Linked DNA regions of Homo sapiens: regions 1, 2, 3, 4, 6 and 7 are each linked to region 5. The links are contacts of gene promoters, found by promoter capture Hi-C in blood cells and fetal thymus (Javierre and others, 2016). All regions are on one chromosome and are shown on one strand. The core of a region is centred on a gene start or on the middle of the fragment in contact, and the rest is flanking DNA. Distances in the headings are between cores, read along the strand shown.

Evidence for each region. Contacts are between HindIII fragments. The CHiCAGO score rates a contact against its expected background, and 5 or more counts as called.
Region 1: a fragment that was not itself captured here is called in contact with the fragment with the promoter of ZNF280D in region 5 in 1 of 17 cell types (fetal thymus); the score reaches 5.2 in fetal thymus.
Region 2: a fragment that was not itself captured here is called in contact with the fragment with the promoter of ZNF280D in region 5 in 1 of 17 cell types (fetal thymus); the score reaches 5.5 in fetal thymus.
Region 3: a fragment that was not itself captured here is called in contact with the fragment with the promoter of ZNF280D in region 5 in 1 of 17 cell types (fetal thymus); the score reaches 6.2 in fetal thymus.
Region 4: a fragment that was not itself captured here is called in contact with the fragment with the promoter of ZNF280D in region 5 in 1 of 17 cell types (fetal thymus); the score reaches 7.6 in fetal thymus.
Region 6: a fragment that was not itself captured here is called in contact with the fragment with the promoter of ZNF280D in region 5 in 1 of 17 cell types (fetal thymus); the score reaches 5.3 in fetal thymus.
Region 7: a contact is called between a fragment that was not itself captured here and the fragment with the promoter of ZNF280D in region 5, in 1 of 17 cell types (fetal thymus). The highest score is 5.7, in fetal thymus.

The regions. Positions count from the first base shown.
Region 1 is chr15:56,990,549-56,993,248 of GRCh38, reverse strand. All of the region lies in intron 3 of TCF12 (transcription factor 12), which reads right to left. Among named protein-coding and RNA genes, the nearest start is that of TCF12, 73 kb to the right of the region's middle. The HindIII fragment of the contact is 3,108 bases long and covers 1-2,700 here.
Region 2 is chr15:56,469,896-56,472,683 of GRCh38, reverse strand. No RefSeq gene overlaps it. Among named protein-coding and RNA genes, the nearest start is that of MNS1, 6.2 kb to the right of the region's middle. The HindIII fragment of the contact is 3,285 bases long and covers 1-2,788 here.
Region 3 is chr15:57,119,249-57,122,016 of GRCh38, reverse strand. The region is part of intron 5 of TCF12 (transcription factor 12); the gene reads right to left. Among named protein-coding and RNA genes, the nearest start is that of SNORD13D, 160 kb to the left of the region's middle. The HindIII fragment of the contact is 1,420 bases long and covers 794-2,213 here.
Region 4 is chr15:57,216,991-57,219,801 of GRCh38, reverse strand. The region is part of intron 8 of TCF12 (transcription factor 12); the gene reads right to left. Among named protein-coding and RNA genes, the nearest start is that of SNORD13D, 60 kb to the left of the region's middle. The HindIII fragment of the contact is 971 bases long and covers 986-1,956 here.
Region 5 is chr15:56,732,063-56,734,762 of GRCh38, reverse strand. ZNF280D (zinc finger protein 280D) reads left to right here and starts at 1,254. Exons shown (of 22, transcript NM_017661.4): 1 at 1,254-1,305. RefSeq lists a silencer at 1,235-1,504. The HindIII fragment of the contact is 3,680 bases long and covers 443-2,700 here.
Region 6 is chr15:57,147,243-57,149,942 of GRCh38, reverse strand. The region is part of intron 5 of TCF12 (transcription factor 12); the gene reads right to left. Among named protein-coding and RNA genes, the nearest start is that of SNORD13D, 130 kb to the left of the region's middle. The HindIII fragment of the contact is 2,374 bases long and covers 65-2,438 here.
Region 7 is chr15:57,085,721-57,088,435 of GRCh38, reverse strand. The region is part of intron 4 of TCF12 (transcription factor 12); the gene reads right to left. Among named protein-coding and RNA genes, the nearest start is that of TCF12, 170 kb to the right of the region's middle. The HindIII fragment of the contact is 951 bases long and covers 831-1,781 here.

The sequences.
Region 1 (2,700 bases), core at 3-2,502, 260 kb before region 5:
AAATGACAAAATTTTCATTCTGAACTTAGCAGTTATCTTTCCTGTTCCTTGAGCCAGAAGTAGCAGGCGTCTTTTAGAGCTTTCTGTTTCAGATTGCCCCACTTTTAGGTTTTAGATTGTGTTAAGTTGTCTGGGGATGCTGGAAGAAAAAAAAAATGGTAAACTCACAGCCAGTGAGATGGTATTCTGAATGCTAGTCTTCATTCATATCCCACCTGGTATTATTTATTCTGCAGAGTCCAGAAGAGTTCCATCCATTTTGCCTAGGTTTTATAGATGCATTCAGTGAGAAAGACGGGGTGCATGTGGTTAATCCATCATACTTGGAAAAGGGAACTAACCTCTAACTTCTTCTCAGTTGCTCAATTCTCACTGACACATGAACTCCTCAAATATCCTTATAAAAAGATAATCGGTAATTTAAAATAAGACAATAGTCCTAAGCATTCTTCTATTCACCAAAATTGCACTAATTCACATGGTAACTAACTCATGAAAAGATAGCCGTAACACTATTAATAAAATCCAATCATGTTTTGGCTAAACAGCTTTTATGACTACAGATGATCACTGCAAGGTCCTCAAAATTTTGTAGTGCACTATCAGAAAAGAAGAACTCTACTTCCTCACTCTTTAGCCTTTATAAAATTCACAATGGCATAATGTATAGCACATCACTAGGTATTTGTGTCTGTGATCCATTTACAGGTGATTAGGTAAGAATCACCATTCAACAAAATGTTATGTGACTTTCAATAGTAGACTCAAATTAAAATTATTCAGGACATGTTTTATTTCAGAAGAATGACCCTTAATCTCTTTCAAACCCTGGCTGCTACGTGAGAAACAAAAGCTGTAAAATTTAGTTTTAACAACAACAACAAAAAATTAAAAGCAGAAAGAATGTGGCAATAAAACTTAATTAAAGGAGACTGGATTTAGAAGCAAGGCTTAAATTTTTATTTATTTATTTACTGTGAGACAGGGTCTCACTCTGTCACCCAGGCTAGACTACAGTGTAATGATCACAGCTTACTGCAGCCTCAACCTCCTGGGCTCACATCATCCTCCCACCTCAGCCTCCTGAGTAAGTGGGACCAGAAGCATACATCACCATGCCCAACTAGGTTTTTTTTTTTTCTTTTTGGCTTTTTTTTAGTAGAGACACGATCTCACTGTATTGCCAAGATTGATCTGGAACTGCTGGTCTCAAGTGATCCTCCCACCTCAGCCTCCTAAAGTACTAGGGTACAGGCATGAGCTACTGTGCCTGGCATAGGAGATCAATTTTTAAGGAAATCTAAAGAATCATATGACAATAGTGTTTATCTCCATAATAAACTTAAAAGTTGTTTTAACCAACTTACTTTTTCTATACCCTGATGGTTAAAAGACAGTTAACCCTTGTACAATGTATTAATCAATGATGATAATTATTTCCCTAAATAAAAAAAAGGGCACTATAATTGAGATTTAACTTTGTAGTTCTGACAGAAGAGTATTTGGAAGGAATTAAGGTACACAAAAAATGAGTAACTCATCTGAATTTAGTTTAAAAATGTTAAATGTTTTGCCATGAAAACTTATTAACCCTAAATGTCTTTTAAATCTTTAGACCATCTTCATTCAAGCAGTAGGTATAGCTCTAAATTCACAGACTAAAAAGGACATTTTCCATAGTGCATATTGATAAGATCATATTTCCTCCAAACTTTATATAAATAGGTCCAAACTTTACTGTCAAACAATTAGATTTTCTGAACTGAGTAAATTAAAACCTTATATTGTAGAAATTAGAATTATATGGAAGATAACATAAGGTCACAAGTTCAGCCCTTTCAATGCAAATTCAATATTCCACTTTTTCCTATGTCTCTAACTGGTCAACCATTTTATCTTGTCCAATGTGGGACACTAGTCATTAGATGGAAACGGAAGACTGGTGAGGAAAGAGAAAAGAGGAGGAAAAGTAAAGAAATCAGGAGAGAATTGGATGCATAAATCAGTGCAAATCCTTCACGGTTAGTGAAAATCAACTGAATATGTGAGATGGTGGGTTGGGAATATCATCTTTCATTACATGACACATTTACGTAAGGCGAGCTTGGGAGACTAAAGCAAACCCCTGAGATTTGTTAACAAATCTGAAGACTGGCCAGGCACAGTGGCTCGCGTCTGTAATGTCAGCACTTTGGGAGGCTGAGGTGGGAGGACTGATTAAGCCCAGGAGTTTGACAGCAGCCTGGGCAACATGGTGAGACCCCATCTCTACAAAAAAATTTAAGGATTAGCCAAGTGCAGTGGTGCACATCTGTGGCCCCAGCTACTGTGGAGGCTGAGGTAGGAGCATTGCTTGAGCCTGGAAGGTAGAGGCTCCAGTGAGCCATGATTATGCCACTTCACTCTCCAGCCTAGGTGATAGAGCAAAACCCTGTCTCAAAAAAAAAAAGAAAAAGAAAAAAATTCTGAAGAGTTATAAAGAAATTTTAACGTAGGTGTTCTGGTCAAAGCTGCTAAAGTTTTTAAAGCTCAGCAGTATTTCAGAATCATAACCCAAGAACACATTGGGCTATCAAGCTACAAGTTCTGCAGTAAGTATGCTACAGGCCAACAGATATGTAGAGTAGTGTTAATAACAAATCTGCAATAGAATTTACCCCCCAAACCTGTAGATCCAATATTTTTTTAATTGCTGATTAG
Region 2 (2,788 bases), core at 119-2,618, 260 kb after region 5:
TTGGGAAACAGGGATTGCAGTTTGACCGTGTGAGTGATGTCTAATCCAGGTGGTACTTGCAGGCCATGCCATCCCTCAAGGATTCTATGTGTCTGATTCCAAGATGTGGGCAGAAAATCTAGCATGTAGAGTATTTTTAGAGAAGAGCTCAGTGAGGCAGCAATAATAACAAATATGATGTATGAGAAGATCAGAGGAAATGAGAGCCACTATCAGTGTGGGAAGCATGGTGGTATGCCATATGTCAGTGTGGCAGCCATGGAAGTGCCCTGCTCAGAATTGTCCTTAGGGGAACCTGCTGCAAGGAAGGTGCTCCTCCCTGAACCTCCAGATGCTACACATTCAGATTTGCTGCTGCGTCCATGCTGAGACCATGCTATCCCCTAAGTACTCCTGGCCAATGCCAGGATATGAGAGCCAGGGCTTTTGACACAACATGGGACATATCTAATGGGAAGTCTTTGCTTGGAGACTTCCCATTAGCCTGGTAGAAACTCTCTCAGAATTGTGCTGCTGCTTGAGGCTCCTTTTTCTTTTCCTCTCTGCTTTTATGAGTTAGATCTATATTATGGTCTCTTTTTCCCCTCCCTCTTTAGCTTTCTTAGGACTTTCTCCAAATAAACCTCTTGACCATCCAATTCCATCCCAGCATTTGCAACTCAGAGGACGCTAACTGATGCAGAGTGTGGCGATTGCCCTGGTCGATGCCAAGGAGGGATAAAAATATACATAACTTGAGTAGGAATTAGGATCTTATTCTGCTGGTGGGGACTGATTAGCAATGGTTTCTCTTTGGTTGTTGTAGTTACCATTATCGCAGTTCCTCATTTATGCTCTCTCATGATGGCACGGCATTAGGATAAATGCATTGTAGTAAAATTTACTTCCAGAGAGAAAAAAAATCCATGTTTTCACAGATTCTAAGACTTTTTTTTTTTGCATTTTAACCTTTCTGAAATTGGGATATCTTTAAATAGATTATTTGCTACAATTTAATTAGTAGGATTGTTTTCTTCTTTACTGATGAATAAAATAATGGTGCATATCATTGATGATGTCATAGATTTGATCAAATTTATCAGCTCAGTTCAGGTCACCAGATGCCAGTTACTATAACAGATTCTAAAGAACTAAGGGGCTGGATTAGGTTTTGTGAATTATTATTTGACTATTTCTTAGGTATATCTACTAGGAAAGGAAAGAAAAACCCTAAGGAACAGAATTATATGGTGGAGAGGTACACAGTTGGTAACTGTTGCTCTGAATACATTAGTAGAGAAATAGCCAGAGAAGCATAAAAAAAATAGGAAGCAAGAATGTCTCTCATCACTTATGGTGCTATTCACTTTTTTACTCTTCCCATTTTCTTTCTTTTTTTTTTTTTTTTTTTTTTTTTTGCTACTTTTATGACTAATGCTGCCTTAGAGGCCACTATTACCTTGTTGTTCAGGTTATTCTGTAATCCTCATAGCAATATCTTATAAAACAAGAGACCTATGATAGGTTAGGTTTTCACTCTATATATTGAACTCCTCATTGATATGTGGACAGAAATCAACAAGTAGAGGACCAAGCAAACTAATTAAGTTTACCCACCATCTCCAGTGGGATGGGTCAGATGGAAGGATCTGTTTCCTTGATTCCTGTCACATGTACCTGTTGATCTAATTGGATTCCTTGGCACTACCTGCTTATAAAATTAGTATTGAAAGTGTTGTTTCCTTTCTCTCCAGATGCTGCCTTTATGCCTGCATCAGTTTTCCCTAGCATTCCCCATACTTCCAAATTAGGAAGTCTCTGCTTCTAACAAAATATCGTTGTTATTGCTGATATGGACACAAATCAGCAAGTACTGGATACCTAATACAATTTAGTAATTGTCATTATTGTTCTATAAATACTATGTAGAACATATATTGTATAATATTCTATGAGCACATCGCATTTCATTATGTATAAATTGTTATATCATCTACGATACTGTTAACATGATATCTTTTATTACAGTCAGAGTAATTAATTGTAATACAAATTTTAATAAAACAAAGCTGGGTTTGCCTAGGAAAGAGTAAATGAGGAATCACTTTGGTTTACTACTCTATAATTATTGGAAGGATTGGTACAATTAGTTGAAAATACTTCAAATATGTCTGATTCAGTGATTCTTTGAAAAAATTATTTGGAGTGGAGTGATGCCATTGACATTGTGGGAAAAATTCTTAAAATGTGAACTTTGCTATAATTCAAAGAGGTATCTTCCTAAGATTGAGAAAGAGAGGCAATATGGTCTAACTCATTTTCAAAACTTTCTGACCTTCACCCTTAGTAAGATACATATTTTACATCGTGACCCAATATATACATTCTATCTATCTATTGATAGGTCAATCAATCATCTATCTAGAACTAAAAAGTGTCACAAAACAATACCTAGTTAACTAGATTTGATGCACTCTATATTTTCTGGGCTATTCTATTCCATTTCTTTTTAAATACTGTTTGTGATCCATAGTTTGAAAAATGCTGGATTCATGAAAAATGAGCTAGGAGACAGACTTCGTACAAATCTCTGTCCCATGATTACCCCTTTCTACGAGCTTGCCTAGTTAATTCTTTCCTTTGAATCTTGTTTTCTTCATCTATAAAGTGAATGGGGTTGTTTTACTAAGTAAAGACAATTACATGTGAAGTGATTGGCACGTAAGAGGCACTCAATAAATCAATAAATGATAAGGTAGCAGGATAATGTTTTCTAATATTAATCAAGTGTTTTCCACTACATTTCCTT
Region 3 (2,768 bases), core at 254-2,753, 390 kb before region 5:
CTAAATATGTAATACACAAATAAAAATCTCTATTTTATTCTAATCTCACCCATAGGTATACTGTGTTCACTCACCATCATAAAAATATGGCAAGGACAACCTAGTAAGTTATATATAACTCCACAAAACTCCAAAGAATCTTCCCCAAGAATTCCAGGAACAATAGAGCTGTATCCATGAACATTATTCCTTTTTAAAGAAGAACACTGTCAGACCATTTGTGCTGCTGTAACAAAAATTCCATAGAATCGGTAATTTACAAACAATACAAATTTATTTCTCATGGTTCTAGAGACTGAGAAGTCTAAGATTAAGGGGCTAGCAGGACTGGCATCTGATATGGGTTGCTCTCTGCTTCCAACATGGCACTTTATTGCTGCCTCCTCTGAGGGGAGCAATACTGTATCTTCAAATGGCAGAAGGGCAAGAGATAAACGCTGTGTCCTCACAGGGTAGAAGAGTGGAAGGGCAAGAAGGTGCGCCTTTCGACCTTGAGCCACTTCATAAGGCGTTAATCCTATTTATGATAGTGAAGCTCTGTCATAATTTAATAACCTCCCACAGGCCAACTACACCTTTTAACACTGTTGCATTGAGGGTTAAATTTCAACATGAATTTTGGAGCAGATACCATCATTCAAACCATGGCAAACACTATTGTTCAAATAAATTCAGTGAACTCATGGAACTGCTCTAATTTCAGAGTGAACCGAATTCATATTTAGAAAACAACCAAAAATGTATTATTTAAACAGTGACAAAGTCTGGTTCTATCCATCAGCGAAGTTAAGCTTCATCTTTGTCCTAGACTAGCGAAAGAACCTCAGTTTCTACGTCAGTCATGTAGCCTCACTGGTAGATGTCATCATCTATATAGCCTCTGGAATGTATGTCAGCTCCAGATCATGCCAAAATGCTACTTCTTTCAGTTTCAAAAACAGATATCCATAAAACTCCTGTTCCAGATTACCTTTCAGTATCAGCTCATTTGCAGAGGAGAGACAACAGGCATTTTCCTTTCCTTTCTTTTCTTTTTTTTAGACAGTCTCACTTTTTCACCCAGGCTAGAGTGCAGAGGTGCAATCATGGCTCACTATAGCCTCAATCTCCTGGGTCCAAGTGATCCTCCAACCTCAGTATCCTGAGTAGATGGGGCCACAGGCTTGCCACAACAGACATTTTCTGAGCCCACTTAACAACCAAACTCTTCCAGTCTCTCATTAAAGAATGTCTCACTTTCCTACACACTGAGATTCCTCACTCAGGTGGCTCTCACAGGAGATCAGCATTTACCAAAAACATTTTAGGAGAAGGATCAAAATCTTACAGGTCCCATATGTAAAATTAGATATGGTGGGGCATAGCAAAAAAATATAGAAATATAATTGTCCATATAATATAAATAAAATATGCTGATAAAATTTTATTCTTCAAGAAGCTGGCAACCTAACAGGAGAGACAGATATGCATTCAAACAACTATAACAAAAGCCAAAACATACACAGAACTGTAAGTCCTGAGAGCTCATCAATGGCAGGGATCATGTAATCTATCTACAGTTTAAAAGCAGTTCAACAAACAATTATTGAGCACTTGATATATATCAGATATTGGATAGGGCCAAGGGAAGAAATGAATCAAGACATCCTATCTTCAAGAAAACTCCAACCTAAAAGCAAGTGTACACAAACAGCAAATTTCAGCATAACATATACAGGGAGCCACAGACAAAACAGCAAGGGAGCACTGAATCCAAGTTGGGAGTTTAGGCAAGGCTTTCTAGAAAAGACAAGCATGGGTTGAAAACTCCAGGACGGCAAAGTCATAAATGCTTCCATTACCAATGTACATCCGAGTAGTCAACGCAGTATCTAGCAAATGGCAGAAATGCAGTAAGTACTGATAAATGAACTGACAGATTTAATTAGGCAAAAAAATGTATGAAGGGCATTTCAGTTAGGGGGAATAATGTGAAAGAAAAGCATGCAAACATAAAACACTTCAAACTAAATGTGTAATTATAAGCAGGTAAATAGTAGTAGGACCTAAGACTCATGACAAGAAATGACAGGAAATAAGGATGGGATATTTGAATACCCTGCATTTAGCTAAGGTTCTGAGACAGAAACAAGGTTGGTGGTCCAAAAAACTTTCAATGTAGTAATGTAAACAACTGATTTTTTTAAAGAGATATAAAGTACTATGGGAAAGCTTAAGAGAAAGAGGTGAATTCCTATTTAGGATTGCCACAGGATCACATGACGAATATTTACCAAGGATCTGCTAAATCAGTGATATTGTGATTCCACTGCCCATTCCTTTAAGAGTTAAAATATTCTAAAATCCAAAGTATACAGTATCCATATGGAGTGAGGGCTGTTGAATAAAGTAGGAGGAAGAAAAGAGACTCTATTTCTTAATTTTGTTTCCAAATAACACAAGGATGAAAAAAGAAACTTCAATTTTACTAGCTGGTTTACAATTATACTTGACTACGGAGTCTCAAAAATAGCATACAGTATCGTATCTAGTATGAAGAAGATACTTAAAAAAAAAAAGCTGTGGACCGGGTACGGTGGCTCATGCCTATAATTCCAGCGGTTTGGAAGGCTGAGCGGAGAGGATTGCTTCACATCAGGAGTTTGAGACTAGCCTGGGCACAATGTGAGACCCTGTCTCTACAAACACTGCCCACCCACCGACCTGCTGCCAAAAAAACAAAAAAACAAACAAACAAACAAAAAAACAAAACCACCATTAGCCAGTCA
Region 4 (2,811 bases), core at 222-2,721, 480 kb before region 5:
GTGAGCCGAGATCGAGCCACTGCACTCCATCCTGGGTGACAGGGCAAGACTCCGTCCCCCCGCAAAAAAAAAAAAAAAAAAGAAATCTACAATCTAATACATTGCATAAAAGGATAAAACAAAACCTCACAGATTTTAGTAAAAAGCGAGTAATGTATACTGCTTTCCTTTAAACAAGTGAGTTAGAAGCTATACAAAGAAAAAGGCTTACCGTTTTCCCATTGTAGTAATACATCAAAGAATTGCTGCCCATTCCAGGGACAGGATAAGCACAATACATGTTGATTTTGAAAATGTTACTATTTGTAGCTAATGCACACAGCCTCTCTCCAAGACATATATCCACACAGGCAAAGGGAGTAAGTCTTCAGTACTATGCATTCACACATGGATCTACTCAAAAGGAACTTATGCAAAATAGGACTGAACCAACTCACAGAGCACAGAGGGAGGGTTTATGCTGTAAGTAACCTCTTTCAATTTCCATCAAGTCCTTGCATTGGTGGAGGATACCAATAAGACAAAATTTGAGGTATTAAAAAAATGCAAGTCACTTTTAAGCGCTAAATAAATATGCCCTGAATAAAAATAACCCAAGAAATTATTAGATTTGTCTCATATATACATATATACACACACAAAAGGAAGGCATACTGACAGATTTTCTGCTAATCTGTTTTTAGTTTTAATTAAATTAGAGCACTTGTGGCAGAGAAACCTAGCTTGCTACACCTCCAGCGTTACCATCTGCCATGGTCTAAAGTTGCTTCAACTTTGATAAACACATGATCAAGTAATCAGGAATTGGAAACACTGAATCATGTGTAACAAGAAGGATCTAGACAGTTAAATCTTGTACAAAATCACTTCCTGGAGAAAGCAGACCATCATGCAAATACCTCTTAACTAGCTAGAACAAACCATACTTTAAGCTACAAAAATTATGTTGAGGAAAACTGAAAGGAACACATTTTATTAAAAAGCTTAGTCCAAAAATCAGATAGATTATCTTGAAACTAAATTACCTGTTTTTAAAATGGAAACACTTAATAATACAGATTTTCAGTTATAAAGCTCCTTGAATTCTTCATACACAACACCAATCAAAAGTTTATAATGTCCTGCAATAGGACTGTTCTTAAAAAAAATTCACACATCTTTCATATAAAGTATGAGAGAATAAACTAAACAGTTTCCTATAAGTCTTTCCTCTAAGTTTATTATTGTTCTTAATACTTTGTATATTCATATTTTTATGCTAATGCTCACATTTCTCAGAAAGGAAAAATAAGAAGTGTGGGAATAAATGTCTTACAGACATTTCTAACTCATACTTCGAAGTCAAAAGGTTTTAAAAGTTGTCTACAAAAACATGTGTCTCTTACACAGACACGTTTTGCTATTTAAATGTTTTCCAATCAATCGTTTGCTGTAATTACAACCTGGAAAAACAGAATAGCAACTTTCCCTTTTTGTGTCATTTCCCTTCATCAAAACTTCTTTGTACTATCCTTCCCTCTATGCCTTGTAGGTTCTAACGGGATTGTATTAATCAGAGGAGAGCTCACAAGCTGCAAAAGGGGGCACATCACTTTTTTTAAAGGTACCTTTCATGAAGCAGAAATCCTCTGTGAAATATTCTAGGAATATACTATAAGGGACCCCCTATCCCCCCAACCTCATTTTTACTAACATATTGATCAAATTATAGTAACGAAACTAAATCAGACAATAAGGGCAACTAACTTCACAATGTTTTAAAAGCTGATAGTATTGGAACAACAATAAAACCTCCCCACACTCTCCAGATATAGAAAAGGCTAAGCAGCAGCTGCAAAAGAACATCGCTGTACAGCAGACTATTAAAATGCCAGTCTGCGGAGTGGTTTGTAACTTCCTCCCTCCTGAGAGACCACAAAGACCCATTTCAATCCTTGGAGAACTGTGTAAAAAGCTTTGATTCACAATTAACAATAGCATGCCTTAAAACCATTCAAGTAAATTTTAGTCTTCCATACACAGTCTTTCTCTACTGACAGATCGGCTACTCTCAAAACAAAAAAAAAGGAAAATCAAACAAAATCGAATCAAAATTTTCTTTTTCTATTAATTATTAAAAATAACACTTACTTTTCAATAGAAATTGAGGAGGAATAGGGAGAAGAGGGGAGCCACAAAGCACTGACAATACTTCAACATTTTTATAATCATCGCTTCAATCTGAGAAAACTTTCTTATATTGGTTAAAAAACATCCACCTATGACAGTTAAGCCCATTTCCCTGATGCCGGGCAGAAAACAGAGAGGGTACTTACTATGTTGTTTGATAAAACAAACATCATAATGTAAACCCAACTAAGCAACCTTGGTTATTAAAGCACAATGAAAATTTTAATATTTTAACACCAGTTCTTTATTTTAGAGGCAATTATATGATAATCTGAAGAGAATAAACATACATTCAGATAAAAAAGAAATTCACTGTAAAAGCCAAATAGTATAATCAAATTTCTTTAATGGAAAAAAACACAGTTACTTTTGCACAAACCTAATCAGTTTATTAAACACCTAAGTAAGATTTAGTGTTAAACATGAAACCTGAATGTGAAACATAATTTGTAAAGAGAGTTGAGTAACTAATTAAAAGCTTTTGCTTCTACTTTTCATTGTTCTCCTAAAAAACATAAATATAAAACTCGTACATGTGTAGGTAAGACCTCCCCTGCCAATACAAACCGTAGTCACTTGGTATACACTACTGCCTAAATTGAGCATAGATATAAAAACTTAAAAAAACAACAACAACAAAAC
Region 5 (2,700 bases), core at 5-2,504:
CAAGTCTTGGTCACTCACAAGCTGCACCAGTAATGCCATTGCTCTTGAGAAGACAATCAGTTTAGGAAACTTTCCTTACAGATCAGAATACAACCTTTAGCAAGTATTTACGCAAGCAGTATCTTGGCAAGTGTTCTTCTTGTAAATTTCTTATACTTCTCGTTGTCAAACTTTAAAAAATGCTATTACAGGTTAATATGCAGATGGCAGAGTTAGGAATTAGAGTGTGCAAGTTAATCATTCTAATTGGGTCACTCTTGTCATAGCCAACTAAAAGAATGGAGAAGCCAGTGCTGGGGGAAGCCCTCAGGGCACATAACATTGCTCTAAGAATGGAATTCTCAGCAAGCCTGGCTGCTGAAACCGCCTGCTGTAACCTGAAACAGGTTTTATCTTCAGGTTTTAGCTTCTCAAAGAACCTGCTGCAGCTGTAGGGCAAGCTTTACCAAGCCCCTTCCCTCACCAGTCAGAACTAACCAGCTACCCAAAACTTTACTAAATGTCAACGAACTTTCTAGAAAAACAATAGATAACTTTTTTTAAAAAATAAAACCCCCTAACTCCTCTTTGTTCTTCTGACATACTGAAGACCACCCTGTATGTGTAAATAACCTGAACTTGCAATTCCTGTGTCCCAAATAAAACGCTAAATGTACAGATTCGTCTCTTCGTATTTGACCTCGACAGGGAACGCAAGCAAAACCACACATTTAAAACAGACTTGGTAAAATCAGCTCGTTATTTAAAGAAACGGACGATTCCTTTTTCTCTCCTGGTTTAGTCTTCGACCCACAGGCCCCTTGCTTCTTTCGAACGGCGGCTGTATCCCATGACCTTTTCACTTTCCAAGCCAACGGACTGGGGGTCGTTACACACGCGGAGGGCCCGGAACGCACGGCTCCTCGCCTGCAAATTCCGAGCAGTCCGGATTTTGGGGCTGCCTCCCGGCCACACCAGCCAGCAGCTCGCACCCACATGGAGGCAGGGCCCTGGCCCTCGCCCCGGACCGGCGCGTGGCGGGGCGCGTGGGTCTTCGAGGGCCCGCGACGCGGCGCACATGCCGGTGCCCGCCTCCCGCGTCGGCGAGAAGACAGGGAGCTCGGACACGGGGAGGCTGACCCGGAGCCTACCCATGAGGCAGCGCGCCGGCTGCACGAGAGCCCCCCCCTTTCCACGGCTCGGCTGCCAGCTCCGCAATGGGAGCCGCCGCCGTCGCCGCAGTGTAGTTTTTCGTGCTCCTCCTTTTCCTCCTCCTCTTTCTCCTCCTCCTCAGGGCTCCAGTCAGGCCGATCCGCTCCGCTCACGGTAAGCGCCCCCCCGCCCCCGCCCGCCCTGCGCTGCAGCAGGCAGAGGCCCTCCCGCGCGGCCTGCGCCGCCTCACTCCGGGGGCGCTGGACTGGGGGTCTTGAGGCCGGCGCGGGTCGTCGGGAGCGCCCAGAGCGCGGGGGAGGAGACCGGCTGCGCGGCGGCGGCCGGACCGCCATCTTGCGTCGGCCCAGGCGGGGGAGGAGGTATCCCGGCGCGACGCGGCAGCCGCCTCGGCTGCTGCAGGCCTGGGCCGCGCAGGCCTTCGCCTTCTGCTCCTCCGCCACCTCCTCTCCCAGGCGTGTGCGCCTGTTTGTCCCCAGCCTGGTTTTGGCTTTTCTCTCTGGAGGCAACTCCCTTTGGTACATTTTGTGCCGATGTTTGGCCAAGACCCATGGTCCTCACACCACAGCCCACCCCCGTGTCTCTTCAGTCGTAGGAAAGGAGACCAAAGGGGATTCGGGATTTGCAGGCACAGGGCCCCTCATTTTGCCCAGATGACCGGTCGTTCCACGTTTGCACCCTCATTTTTGTCAAAGAGACCTCCCCTCCTCTGCCATAGAATTCCCGTTATTGTCTACAGAAGAAGGGCCCTGAGGAGAAACGTGGAGTTGGAGACAAAATTTTCTGAGCTTTGCAAGGTTCACTTACTGAGACGGAAAGAATGATCTCACTCTGAGGTTTTAGCCTGCTCCAGCGATGGAAGGAATTCCTCCCAACTTATCGCAAGTTTTAACGCTTTTAAGGAGAAATCTGCTGGAGAGGAAAAACGTCAAGGTGAACCCGCTTCTGCAAGCACGGGAGACCTTTGGCCAAAGGCCTTTGTTTGCGAAGATTTGTTAAAAAAAAAAAAATCTGTCATCTTAAATATTTGGCTTTATTTTCAGGTTTGGACAGAATTTGTCTTTTTTAGTGCCATGAAACATAAAATGGAACGCTAGAAGGACAGTTTTAAAGCACAAAAGCTGCCTCTTAGCATCTGTAAGGTGTCCTGCTTTGGGGGACTGCTGTGCCAACTCCAGCTGTCTCCACGCAGAAACTTAACCAGGGAAGGCACTGGTTTGCTTATACCATTGTTAGGGCTGTGTGCCTCTGATGTTTTAACATCACTACAAATACTGTTGTAATTGTGTCTTGCTTTTGTGCCTTTCATTGATAACCCCTGATTTGTATCTCTTAGCCCCTTTTGAAGTGGTCTGGGTTGCTGGAATCATTTTGCAGGCGAGGAAACAGAGCCTCAGGGAGAGGACTTTAATGAGGTCACTGACTAGGAAGAGCCAAGGCCAATTATATTAATAGAACCTTAGGTCTTCTGACTCCTTCTCCGGTGCTCAACTCTAGTATATACCATTTTTGTGGGAATGAGGTAGATGAGAATAGGCAAGGAGGCTCACT
Region 6 (2,700 bases), core at 2-2,501, 420 kb before region 5:
AGGTTTTTATACCTCTTAGAAACCCTTTCACACACCCCCTTTAAAGGAAAAAAATAAAAAAGCTTTCTCCTAGTCTTTCTCTAGCAAACCCATTTTTACAGATCAGAAAAAGATAGAACATAACAAAACTTGACTTCTGTAAATAATCAGACTTTCCAACAAACAAAGACTGCTTAGAGTAGTGCATGAGGTAGAAGATAACCTGAAAAGTTGGATCTACATTTGCTACTATCTTTACTTTTTGGAGTAGCCTAAGTTAAAAACATCCTACTCAGCGAGACTTTACCATAATAGATAATGGGTTTGATAAACTCTTGGACAATCTAAAAACTTTGTTAAACTACCTCTGTTTTTATGATATTGTGCTCTCTTATTTCCAACATTAGATGTTTTATTTCTAAAATACTTTGAATTCCACTAAGTCTGCTGACATATTTGAATTTAGAACAAACTGCTCTAAGAAAATGATCTCCTGTACTAACTACACACATAGCTATTTCTAAAAGGTTAAAAGGCTGGCAATTTTCCAGTTCTTTCTCATCATTTCAGTTATGAAATACAATGTCCAGTTCCTAGTTCTCTTCTATTTTCTTTGGCATGTTGTGACCAGTTCTCCAAATTCAGTATCATGTATTTTGTTGTGTAGGTCTTTAATTCCTGGCCCCAACCCTTGCCCACATACATATACTCTAAATATATGCTACAGATAACCACAGGGCATGAAAAACACTGGTGAAAATTGCTATTATTAAATTTTACTGCTTCTTAGAGGTCTGTCTCTCACTATGCAAGCTACGTCATATTTACATTTATTTTGACACTTTTATATTCAATTTAAAAAGTCACTGATTTCATTAAAATATTTTGACAAACTATATGCTAACTAACAGTAAAATTTATACTGAAAAATCTTAAAGCACTCCTGTTCTTTCTCCGAGGGATTTGTATATCCTGGCAATGTAAACATAGATTTAAGACTACACCTAGACCCGTCTCACGTGGGAAAACTGGTCACGTTGTTGTTAGTTATAATGCTTGTAAGTACATTTGAGCTTTCTGTTGTTGTTGAGATGAGGTCTCATTCTGTTAACCAGGCTGCAGTGCAGTGGCACAGTCCTGGCTCACTGCAACCTCTACCTCCAGGCTCAAGCTATCCTCTCACCTCAACCTCCTGAGTAGCTGGGACCACAGGTGCACACCACCATGCCCAGCTAAATTTTGTATTTTTTTTTTTTTTTTTTGCCACGTCACCCAGGCTGGTCTCGAACTCCTAGACTCAAGTGATCCACCCACCTCAGCCTCCCAAGTGTTGGGAATACAGGCATGAGCCACTGTGCCTGGCCATTTGAGCATTTTTTGAAAAAACAATTTTTGTAAACTTGTATTTTGTCATTTTCCTTGAACATTCCAACTTTCCAAGTTCCCTCCCACTGAAGGCTGCTGGTTTGGCTTGTTAGCCCCTCTGTATGAATTGTTCTTTTGTCACAGCATTAAGTCTGTGAGGGAAACTAGACAATTTTTTTTTTTTTTTAAACAAAGTCTTCCTCTGCTGCCCAGGCTGGAGTGCAGTGGTGTGATCATAGCTCATTCCAGCCTCCAAACCCTGGGTTCAGCCTTCAAACAGCTGGGACTACAGGTGCATTTGCATTTATTCAAATATTATTTCCTCAGAGAAGGGTTCTCTGACTAAACTATCTAAAATAACCCCACTCTAGCCTTTCTTTCTTTCTTTCTTTTTATTATACTGTTAACAAAAATCGACCTGGTAAAGTGGCTCACACCTGTAATCCCAGCACTTTGGAAGGCCAAGGTGGGAGGATGGCTTGAGCCCAGGAGTTTGACACCAGCCTGGGCAACATAGTGCGATCGTGTCTCTACAAATAATAATAAAAAAAAATTAGCAGGGCATGGTGACGTGCACCTGTACTCCCAGCTATTCGAAGGCTGAGGTGAGAGGATTGTTGAGTCCAGGATTTGGAGGCTGAAATGAGCTATGACCACACCACTGCACTCCAGCCTGGGCAGAAGAGCAAGACTTTGTTTAAAAAAAAAAAAAAAAAGTCTAGTTTCCCTTGCAGAGATAATGAAACTTGGCCAGTAACCTTTGGTAAAACCATTATAACTCACAATTTCCCCTTTTCCTATTATAAAGTTTAGGAACTCTGCTTTAATTTGTATTGTCACTTTATCTACATTTTACTATCATTTTCCATATTTGTATTTTGCTATTATCACATATGTGATAACTGAACCCAAAACTCCTTTGCATTTTCTGTTCCTGTGACTGTCTCTTTCCATTCATAATTTTATAAAATATGCACAAGGATTTAACTGCACCTTTATAGGTTTTTTATTTTATACTTTCTGTTTTTTTTCCCTAGAACATGCAAAGATCTCACTTAGTGCTTTTATGGTAAGAGTTTATTTTGGGTAAAGCTTTAAAAAAAGTATAAAATGCTTTAAAATATTTCAATGAAAGATTATAGCAGATAAGCAGGATTAATTTAAAAAACAAACTATTTGGGGATCAGAAGTAGTTGTTTAATAGGATATAGGTTTAGAGTTCCCAAAAGATATCTTACAACTAAGGAAATAAATATAAAGATAGCTCTAAAGGGTTAGATAACTATTACACTGATGTTAAACAAATACCATGCTTACTGGAATTAAACTTTCTAGAAGTAATAAGCTTAATAACTG
Region 7 (2,715 bases), core at 57-2,556, 350 kb before region 5:
AAAGTAGAAGGTAGCTTAGCTGTCAAATATAGCCCCAATGAAAGAAATAGGTTAGTTGACTAGGAGTTTAAACTTCTTCTGAAATACCACATAGAGTTAGGCAACAAGCATGGCTGCTCATAGAGCAAAAGGGGAAAATGTCATAAACCAGAGCACTCACGGGGCTGACAGAATAGCAGAGAACAAAGCAAAATAATGTAGTAACTTCCAACAGGCTGGAGAACATAGGTTGAAGGTAAATGGCCTAAGGGAGTGGTTGCAGTGACAAGAAAAGAACAAAAACCAAGCAAACAATGGTTAAGTTGGAGCCCGAGTGGATCAACCAATGGGACCAGTAAATGAATGCTATTTCAATTTTAAAATATAAAGGAAGTAAATCAGTGACATCATTAAATATACAATGATCATGCTGCATATTTCAAATTGATAGAAAGTTACTATGCTAATAAAAGGGGTCAAACATGGCTCCCAGGACTCCTAATTAAGATCTTGAATTCTGTTAATAGCAACTAAGATAAACGAGATTTTTTAATACATGAGATGACATACATTATGAAGGACAGAGCAATACTATCAGAATTATCTATTACACCAGCCTTTTAGCCACAATATGCTATTGAACACCAAAATATTTCCAAATACAACCTAAACAATCACTGTTCCCATCTTATAAAAATGGAAAGCACTCAAGATATTAATAATTGATAAAATCAGTTGATGCATGGCAAGATTACAAAAACCATTAATTTCTATACTTAAAATCTGTCTAAAATTTGGTTGGTAAATCTTAAATAATTCCATCTATGAATGCATAATACTTCATAAAAGCTTTGATATTATAAAATGTGGTCTATAAAGTAGATTTCATACTTTTCTCTATGTTCATTTCCTGATGCAGGAACTTAGAAATGTTAACCCCTGCTACAGTATGACAACAGACCTGAAGTGATCAAAGCAGCTTCCATATTTAAACTAAACAGCACATAATCAAATATATATATATATAAATTTTTTTTTTTTTTTTGAGACAGGGTCTTGCTCTGTTGCTCAGGCTGGAGTGCAGTGGCATGATCACAGCTCAACGCAGCCTCAATCTGCTGGGCTCAAGCAATCCTCCCACTTCAGCCTCCTGAGTAACTGGGACTACAGGCACACACCACCACGACCAGCCAATATTTTTATTTTTTGTCGAGATGGGGTCTCCTATGTTGTCCAGGCTAGTCTTGAATTCCTGGGCTCAAGTGAACCTCCCATTTTGGCCTCCCAAAATGTGGGCAATCAAATATTTTGTTGTATCCAAGGTGAGCAGGGGGGTAGGGAGAGGGAGAGGGAGAGAGAGGGAGACAGAGGGAGACAGAGGGAGAGAGAGGGAGACAGAGGGAGACAGAGGGAGAGAGAGGGGAAGAGACAGAGGGAGACAGAGGGAGAGAACACACCTAGTATTATTTATATAATAGTACTCTTATCTGGTTTCTCACCTCAAAAATACAAGAATTTTTTCTTTTGGCTAATTTTTAAAACGGCTCATTTAAAAAATTTATCTCATCCAATTTATAGAGTATCATCACCAGAGGATCTTTCCCAGTTCAGAATACACTTACAGTTTTACAAACCTATGTTGTTATTTCTTTGTATGAAAATCAGTTTAAAAAAAAGAAACCACTGTTTTTAAAATTCTATTAAAAAATTTTTCAATTCTTTTCAATGGCCTTTTTTTTTTTTTTTTTTTTAAAGGGAGGGAAAGAGGCTCTTTGAATAAAGATTACTTTCTCAGGAAAGCTTTCCCTGGACCCTAACAAGACCAAATTGCGTGAGATTATTCTGTGCTCCCACAGCAGTGAGCACTCCATCATTGCACGGCTCCTACTTATTAAAACTGCCTATTTAATTATCCATTTAAATTAAATTTATAATTTAAATTTGTGTTATAATTGCACAGCATAGTGTAGTGGATAAACATGAAATTTTTGGAGCCAGACTGGCAGGTAATTCCATCTTTGGTACATACAAGCTATGTGGCATGGGGCATATTAAACTTTCTTATCTCAGTTTCCTTATCTGTAAAATGTAGATGATGGTAATAAGAATGCGTTCACTTCACAGGTTGTTACAAAAGGATTAAATAAGTAAATATATGTAGCACTTGGAAAAGTTCCTGGCACATAGTAAGCACATAATAAACACTAGTCATTATATTATTATTATTATTATTATTATTATTATCATCATCATCCAAGTTAGAGATTATGTCTTACAAATTCTGAGAGCACAGGGACCCTATTTTTTTTCTTTTTCCCCCAACAATGACATCCTCAGAATGATGCCTGCCACATACATAGCAGGTGCTGAACAAATGACAAAGGGAGGGGAGGAGGTTTTAGCTGCTAAATCTTTAAAATGCTGCTGAGTTTTAGATATTATAAATGTCCAATCAGTTTCTCCATAGACCTCAGGGTAACTATCAGAAAGAAAGGTGGTAAGAAACTAGCTTATCTAACCGGATTGAACAAGTATCCACGGGTTTCTGGTATTCAAAGAGCTACAAGATTTCCCACCAATTACCGAAATCTTACACCCTCTAAGTGGGCAAAAGCCAGAAGAATCGGCCAAAACCCATAAGCCATCAGAAAGTTCTGGATGAGGCCTGGATATAAATAAGTGTTTATGCTTCAAAGTGAAATATTAATAAAATGGAAAGTTAAAAAAGTAAGAATA